Regions from separate parts of the Homo sapiens genome. Here region 2 is linked to region 1. Evidence: promoter capture Hi-C in 16 types of primary human blood cells and fetal thymus (Javierre and others, 2016). All regions are on one chromosome and are shown on one strand. Each heading gives the region's core, a stretch centred on a gene start or on the middle of the fragment in contact. The rest is flanking DNA. Distances are from core to core; before and after follow the strand shown.

Region 1 (4,492 bases), core at 692-3,191:
TCTGAAACAGAGTCTCTTTCTGTTGCCCAGACTGGAGTACAGTGGCACAATCTCGGCTTTCTGCAACCTCCGCCTCCTGGATTCAAGCGATGCTCCTGCCGCAGCCTCCAGAGTAGCTGGGACTACAGGTGTGCGCCATGACATCCGGCTATTTTAGTAGAAACGGGGTTTTGCCATGTTGGCCAGGCTAGTCTCCAACTCCTGACCTCAAGTGGTCCACCCAACTCGGCCTCCCAAAGTGCTGGGATTACAGGCATGAGCCACTGCGACTGGCCTCCTGCTAATTTTTTAATTTTTTTCGAGAAACAGTGTCTCCCTGTGTTGCCCAAGCTGGTCTCCAATACCTGGGCTCAAGTGATGCCCCCACCCTGATCTCCCAGACTGCTGGGATTACAGGAGTGAGCCACAGCTTTTCTTCATTAAATAAATACCTGAGCTCCTACTACACGGCACTGAAAGATAATCCATCGGGCAAGACAACACAACTATAATTTGCTGTGTTTAAGATGATATTGATCTGCGGAACACAGGGAATATTTGTCCATTAATAAAAAAGGAAAAATCACCGTGAAGAAACTTCCTTGGAATGAATATAAAGCATAATTTCCATGATCCTAAGGATGAAATCATTGCCTTTCTCAACCAGAGCTCCTCATCTGAACCACAGAACACAGATAATGATTTAAGTGGCTCTTTTCTCTATTCTCCCACTCGGGGGTACATAACAGCTCCATTCTAGCAGCAGAGGAGAGAGAATAATTCATTACATGCAGTGGGTGTCGTAGGGCTGTGGGCCTTAGCACCCCTGTTCTGAGGCTGCCAACAATTTAGAGACCAGAGGCTCTATCTGTGCACACACGTAGCATGAATTAGTACCTGTATTGTAAAGGGAAAAAGTCATAACTACTTCTGCTGGCCTAAGCCGTCCTGGGTTAGACAAGCTTGGAAAGTGCACGACCATCACTATCATTCCGCTGTCACTGCACCATGCACAGTCCTGTCACCTTTACACGTGTAGAATGCATCGAAATCCTTCCAAAATTTTTAGTGACCTGCTTTTCCCTTGCTAAAGTAAACAGTAACTTGCTGTGTGCCCGGCTGCTGGGCGCGTAAGGTGCGTTCAGAGTCAACACACGGTCCCAGTTTCCAAAGCAAACTACTGGGAGATCAGACACAAGCTGCTGTTCGCGCTCGCCCCACCCCAAGCACCCAGCACTCTAAGGTGCCCACATTTCACACCCATCTGTTGCCTCCCGCTTGGTGCACAGTCCTTTGTGAAGCCCCAGGGATAAAGCAGCGACCAAGAGGACCCGGCCTGCTCCCCGGGGCTGACGCCAGCTGCGGGGACCCCGTGGGGCGGACCACAGTTAGGCCAGTGGGCTCCGGCTGGGTAAGCGCCAGATACAATCCGCCAAGCGGAGTGACGGACAGGGAGCCACGCTCGAAGAGGGGGTCGAGGCCGGGACCTTCCCCGCTCCCTCCTCCTGCCCCAACCCGCCCTGAGGACTCCGCCCAGGAAGCCCTGGGGACCCCGCCCGGAGCCCCCACCCTAGGACTCCCGGGACCCCCGCCCTGGGGACCCCACCAGCAGTCCCCGCTCAGGACTCCCTGAGACCCTGCCCGCAGCCCCCGCCCCAGAACGCCGGAGATCCCCGCCCTGGGGACCCTCCCGGAGCCCCGCCCAAGACGCCCCGAGCCCCCGCCCGCCCTCCAGACGCCGCCCCGGCCGGGCCTGAACCGCTACCCGCGGCTGCCGCTCACCGCCGTCAGGTCTGGCAGCCGGTCCCGCATCCCCGCCGGCCGGGCAGCGCGCCCCGCCGCTCAAGCCTGTCCCGAGCTGCCTCCGGCCGGGCCTCGGGCTCTCCGGTCTCCGCCTCAGGCCCCGCGGTCCCGGCCCGGCGCCAGCAGCCCTCCCTGGAGCCGGCGCTGCCACGGCAACCGCGCCCCGCGCGCTCTGCGCATGCCCGGCCCGCGCCGCGCCCCGCACCCACCCACACGGCGGCAGCGCTTTCCAGCGGGAGCCCGGAGGGGCGGGGCCTGGGGGCGGGGCCTAGGCGGGGAGGGGCGGGGTCCGGCCGAGCCCCAGGCTGGCAGTTCCGCTACACGTGCTGTTTGTCCCTTGATCTGCTTTTATGCTTTCACACTCATTGTTTTATTTATCAAAATATAGAGCATTCAACGAATAGTGACAAAAGAGCAAAGCTCCCGGAATGTGCTGGGTGCAGCTTTGGGTAATACATATGCCGAACCTTCTCTTTAAGGGTCCACGCGCAGCCTCGGGTGTGAATGAAGGAGAAGAGATCGTGTACCACACATGATGCTTACGGAGCATAACACGGCAGGGGGCGGTAACGGGAAGAGCGTCCGCAGGCCCAGCCCTGGGATACCATTCTGGCAGGAGAAACAGGCAATACAGACACAGACAAATAAATGATAGATGAGAAAAGAAAGTAAGGGCATGGGCACGGAACTGGCAGAGAGGTCGTCATGAAGGTGCAGGAGCTTAGGTGAACTACCCAGGTTGGGGGAACAGTCCCCAAGACCATTATCACCTCTGACACCAACGGCAAATTCTGGCGGTTTCCAAAACCACCTTCAAGTTCCATAATTTGCTAGAAGGAATCACAGAATACACTAAAAACTACTGTACTCACAACTATGGTTTCTTAGCAGGAAAATGATACGGATTAACATCAGCCAAGGAAGAAGGGCAGAGGGGGAGTCTGGGGATTACGGCGTGCAGCTTCAAGGTCCTCCCGTGGTCCTCTCCCTGTGTAGTCAGGCCTCATTACTTGCCCTGCACTGATGTGTGGCCTTACACACGAAGTACTGCCAGCCAGGGAAGCTCACTTGAGCCACAGTGTGCAGAACGTTTACTGGGCTCCATTGCATGTGCATGATTGATTGATTGTTTGATTGCTTTCATGCTTGATCTCAGCCTCTTGGTTAAGTGATATCCATGTAACCCTAAGCCCCCACCATAAATCACACTGTTACTCTCTGGCTAGCCGAAGACTCCCAGGCAAACAAAGATTGCCTTCCAGGAGGAGAAGGCAAGGCCAGATTTGTTTTTAAACAAGGTTAAAGTCTTTACTGCCTCCTGGAGGAGGTGGCTTTGGTCTGACCAGAAGGCAGCGCTAAGAAATCTGCTTGAGAGCAACAGGCTACACATTAAAAAACAGGACGTTTTGGACTTGGTTCTAGGTGTGATGTGGTTCTGTTACCCGATGGAAGGTCTTGACAGCCAGTTGTCCAGGTGAGTGTGGTGGCGGGCACCTGTAATCCCAGCTACTCAGGAGGCTGATGCATGAGAATTGCTTGAACCCGGGAGGTGGAGCTTGCAGTGAGCCAAGATCGCACCACTGCACTCCAGCCTGGACAGTAAAGCGAGACTCCGTCTCCAAAAAAAAAAAAAAGATATGTTTTTTCTCTCCATATCCTGAACTTCCCCACCAGAATGCCTCCTGGACCCCGCAACAGGCAAGTGCTTTTCTTTCGGCCTTCTTGCCTCTGCCACCACCATTTTAATTCTCCCTCTCTGGTAAATACTGGGCCCTCCCTCGTTTCTCCCTCTCTCCCAGTGGATTTTTCAAAAACATATGATAATATTGGCAGCAGCTGGATGGTGTTGAATTGGCAACCAAAACTTTTTGTTTGTTTGTTTGTTTGTTTGAGACAGAGTCTTATTCTGTCTCCCAGACTGGAGTGCAGTGGCATGGTCATAGTCCACTGCCGCCTTGAACTCCTGGGCTCAAGTAATCCTCCCACCTCAGCCTCCAAAAGCACAGGGACCACAGACATGAGCCCACCATGCCCAACCTCAAAACTTTCCTTATCCTGCCAGAGAAAAAAAATGAAGTTGTGAATAATCGTTGTGGGAATTCAGGGACCCTGAATGGAGGGACCGGCTGAAGCCATGGAAGAAGAACATAAATTATGAAGATTTCATGGACATTTATTAGTTCCCCAAATTAATACTTTTATAATTTCTTATGCCTGTCTTTACTGTAATCTCTGAACATAAATTGTGAAGATTTCATGGACACTTATCACTTCCCCAGTCAATACCCTTGTGATTTCCTAGGCCTGTCTTTACTTTAATCTCTTAATCCCATCATCTTCGTAAGCTGAGGAGGATGTATGTCGCCTCAGGACCCTGTGATGATTTTGTTAACTGCACAAATTGTTTGTAGAGCATGTGTGTTTGAACAATATGAAATCTGGGCACCTAGAAAAAAGAACAGGATAACAGCAATGTTCAGGGAACAAGAGAGATAACCTTAAACTCTGACTGCCGGTGAGCCAGGCGGAACAGAGCCGTATTTCTCTTCTTTCAAAAGCAAATGGGAGAAATATTGCTGAATTCTTTTTCTCAGCAAGGAACATCCCTGAGAAAGAGAAAGCATCCCTGAGGGTAGGCCTCTGAAATGGCCGCTTTGGGGGTGGCTGGGCATGGTGGCATGTGCCTGTAGACTACTCAGGAGGCTGAGGC
Region 2 (4,175 bases), core at 844-3,343, 160 kb after region 1:
TAAAACTGAACTGGTGGTTGATAGAGACCCATTGGAAGATGCGGGGAAAACTGAAGGTCTTCAAGTTTGTTGCCTAAGGACAGGTGCTGAGCAGTGTCATTTTGTCCACCTTTAGACCTTCTTAAAAGCCGTGGGAGAGATCCTTCTACTGCCTGGTTGGATTGCTCTGTCAGAGGTAAGAGAAAAGAACATGGTCGGTCATGGTGGCTCATACCTATAATCCCAGCACTTTGGGAGGCCAAGGCGGGTGGATCACTTGAGGTCAGGAGTCAAGACCAGCCTGGCCAATGTGGCAAAACCCCATCTCTACTAAAAATACAAAAATTAGCCAGGCGTGGTGGCGGGCACCTGTAGTCCCAGCTACTCAGGAGGCTGAGGCAGGAGAATTGCTGGAACCTGGGAGGCGGAGGTTGCAGTGAGCCGAGGTTGTGCCACTGCACTCCAGCCTGGGCAACAGAGTGAGACTCTGTCTCAAAAAACAAAAAAAAAAAAAAAAAAGAGAGAGAGAGAAAAGAACATTTTGATCTTCAAAACGTATGTGCCTCGGGAACCATTTTGTCTTCCTAGAAGTGGCATAATATGGCCCAGTCACATCCACAAAAAGAATGATGTATCTCCCAGTCCTGACATCTGGGATATAAGAGCTCATTTTGAGTAGACATGCAACTGATTCAGAATGCCTTGTCCTCTAAGGCAAAAGAAATGCACGTGTGTCAGTAATGTGTTACTGTCCTAAACATGGAAGAAGGAAATGATGGTTTTTTCCCCATGAGAAATGTGTACTTGGTTCATCCTGGTCATTTCATGTAATATGTATTTTTTTTTTCTTTACCATCCCATCATTCTTGAATGACAATAGAAAGCTTTTTATGTTAAAAGTCACTGGATTTAGTAAGAAAAAGGAGAATACATGACAATATGTACTTCATGATTAAGGTGCAGAAAAAAAGCTTCTCTTGTTCTCTTTACTCAAAATAGCTAGAAAGGAGAATGAAATAATTTTTCCTATATTTCTGAAAATAACTTGATTGTACTTATTTAAAAAGAAAACAAATAAATAGTTGTGGAGAAGTTAGAAAATGCAGATAATAAAAAACAAAATAAAAATCACTTCAAATCCTAAAACTGAGATTATTAACATTCTTGTATATTTCCTTATAGTCTAGTTTTCAATTCACTTATATATGTATTCAACAGATATACTGTATATTTGACTTAATTTGTTTTTCCTTAATTATGTCAATAACACTTTCCAATGATACTAAGTATTCACCTGCAACACTGTATTAGTCAGGACAGGCCAGGGTGCACTGCAGTAACAAATAGATCCCTACATCTCAGTGGCTCAGCACAGTAGAAATTTACTTCTCTGCCATGCAAAGTCCAGAGTGAGTCAGAGGAGCCTCTTCTCCACCCAGATACTCAGGGATCCTGGCTCCATCTGTCTTCCGGTGCTGGCTTCTCAATATGTGGTTTCCAAGGTTGCCAGGCAGGGGCAGAGAAGGGTGAGGAGGACTCTTAACTGCCTTGGCCCAGAAGGGTCCCAACCACACCACCATGATATTAAAGTGCTCATTCTCCTAAGCCCTGATAATATTTGAAAATGTTTGCCAGTTTGAGGGCAGAAGTGGCATTTTATTCTCTCATTATTAATAAGATTGCGTTAGAGTTTACATTTGATAAACTTTTGTTTGAATAATTTCAAGTGGAATGAGATTAGGTTTAACAGTGGCAAAGGGAGAAAAAAAGGCTCAAGAATGTAAGATGGATACAGTCTTACCTAGAAAACAATTCCTTTTTAAAAGGTTTGACCTCTTTCATGATTTCAAGGGGACTTTGTGTCCAAAGCTGCAGGCTGGGAACACCCAGAGGACAGCCAATGGAAGTATCCAGGCAGACGTATTTTGTGCATGATTTTAATTAACTGCTTTTGAATGCAAAATATGCAAATCTGTTACAAAATATGAATAACCAGGAAACTGTCCAGACTCAGGCAGGGTCCAATATGCATTAAAGAGAATGCATGAATCGGTCTCTACCCCACAGAACTGCATGCCAGAAACACAGACTTCCATGTGCTTAACTGGGCCTGGTGACTGAAATCAGGCTATGGGCCTAAAAGCAAATATCTAAAATTGGCCTCAGCATTCTATTTCCAGCTCATGAGGCTCTTCTGAAGTGCGTGTTTGTGGGAGAATGCTGAGGACTTAGCAGCAGGCAGGTGCTTCCCCAGAAAGGCAGGAAGAGAAGCAGTGAAGGCAGAGCTCACTGGCCCAGCTCAGCAGGGCTTAAGAGAGGCCTCTCCCCTGGTGATGTGTGTCTGAGGATGAGGGCCCCCTGCTTTCTTGGGGGCAGTGTCTACCAGGATCCTCTGCTCTGGAACTCAGAAAGGAAAGAGGGCTCTTGGAGTAGAAGGCAAGCTCCTGGGAAGTCAAGGCAGCCAGAGATAGCTCTGGGTGCCGGCACCTCGGAAGCAGCCACCCTTCATGGAGAAGGGGACAGAGCTGCTGGTGTCCCCATCCCAGAGTGGACCTGGGGGCGATCAGCCCCTCCTCGTGAAGCACAGGGAGGTAGGGGGAGGGTCTGGGATGTGCTGAGGGTCCCTCTGTGAGTTCAGGGAGGAGGCAGGACCAGGAGTTGGGTCCCCTCAGTCCCCGTGTCTAAGTGTAGAAATGCAGGAGCCGGCGATGGCTGGGGTGATGGGTCCACCTGGGCTGTGTCCATGCTCCGTGAGCTCAGTCGGGTGTGTGGCCTCCGTGTGGTCCCCTCCTGATCCATGGGAAGGGGCAGTTGTGTGACTTCTTCCTCCCTCGTGGCCAACGTGGGGAAACTTGATTTTGTGTGCCTGGTGCACCTGCCTGGTGCCCTGGCTGAGTGGGGTGGATTTTCATGGCTCCTGGTGCTTGTGTTGCTGCAGGACAGCGCCGTGGTACTGAGTCTCATCGACACTATTGACACCGTCATGGGCCATGTATCCTCCAACCTGCACGGCAGCACGCCCCAGGTCACCGTGGAGGGCTCCTCTGCCATGGCAGGTAGCTGTCGCTTGTAAGGGTGAGCCACATGGCAGGGGCGGGGGCTGGAGGCTGCGTTTCACTGCCTGTCTTTTTACACCCTTAGCAGAGAGCCATGCTCTGTCTCCCTGACTGCTCTGCCTGGCACAAACCACATTTGGAAGGAAAACCCGTGGTCAGATGAGGGCAGGTGTGTTCGGCCATGATATGCAGATGGGGCCCATAAGCTTTTCCCAGTGACTTGGGAGCCAAGCTCCTGCCCTGGGATGATGGTCTCGGTTCAGAGCAGGAGGCAGAAGCAGCAGTGCCTGCAAGAGTCTGTGGAATAAAAGGGGTGGCCTCGGGTTTCTGGCGTCAGCTTGCTCTCAGCTGGGCTCCAGGGTAATTGTCACAGTTGTCTAATTGTAGAGGCAGAGGTGATGACCTTTCGATTTTAAAAGTCTTTACCAGGAGTGCATTATCCTGCTGATACTTCGCTGCAAGAGCCGAGCTGGGGAAAATGGGCTGAAGCTACAGGGGTTAGTTTAGTCGCAGTTTGTTGGCCGTGTTGCCCTCGCCTGCTGCGCTTGGGGAGGAGCCGATGTCACCGCATCGCTGAGCACAGCCCATCCTTGCACCGGCCTTGAGAGCTGGGGGCTGTGCTGGGGCGGAGGGCGCCCCAGGTGAGGAGCCGCGCGCCCGTGGGCCGGAATGCTGAGCCTCCCCGTGGCAGTCACTGCCTGGGCTCTTCATTGCTTTACCCTTTTTTTTTTTTTTTTTGAGGCCATGCTTTCTAAAGGTAATTATACTTCCCGTGGGGAGCTTGTCCTGTCAAAAAAGAAAAGCAGACGGGGTTTTGCAGTCTGATTTCCTGCAGCCTGTGAGCTCTGACGGGACTTCCGCTCTCTCGCTCCTTCCACCGCAGAGTTTTCCGTGGCCAAAATCCTGCCCAAGACCGTGAATTCCTCCCATTACCGCTTCCCGGCCCACGGGCAGAGCTTCATCCAGATCCCCCACGAGGCCTTCCACAGGCACGGTGAGTGTGGCTGCGCTGGACTCCCTTCCGGGGCGGCTCCCTCAAGTCTTTCTGAAGAGTCCCCAAGCTTTGCTGGGTGCCCACCGCGCCAGGGAGCTGCGGTGCTCCCCCGGGCCGCCTGCGGTGCTCCCCCGGACTGCCTGTCC

What was found. The method cuts DNA at HindIII sites, captures the fragments that hold promoters and counts their contacts. A CHiCAGO score of 5 or more calls a contact.
Region 2: a contact is called between a fragment that was not itself captured here and the fragment with the promoter of STX2 in region 1, in 1 of 17 cell types (naive CD4 T cells). The highest score is 5.1, in naive CD4 T cells.

The regions. Positions count from the first base shown.
Region 1 is chr12:130,837,309-130,841,800 of GRCh38, forward strand. It overlaps STX2 (syntaxin 2), which reads right to left and starts at 1,942. Exons shown (of 11, transcript NM_194356.4): 1 at 1,762-1,942. The coding sequence starts at 1,791. RefSeq lists silencers at 1,506-1,565, 1,636-2,145. The HindIII fragment of the contact is 18,553 bases long and covers 940-4,492 here.
Region 2 is chr12:131,000,268-131,004,442 of GRCh38, forward strand. It overlaps ADGRD1 (adhesion G protein-coupled receptor D1), which reads left to right. Exons shown (of 25, transcript NM_198827.5): 9 at 116-175; 10 at 2,918-3,035; 11 at 3,919-4,029. Among named protein-coding and RNA genes, the nearest start is that of ADGRD1-AS1, 8.4 kb to the left of the region's middle. RefSeq lists an enhancer at 2,129-2,338. The HindIII fragment of the contact is 2,291 bases long and covers 949-3,239 here.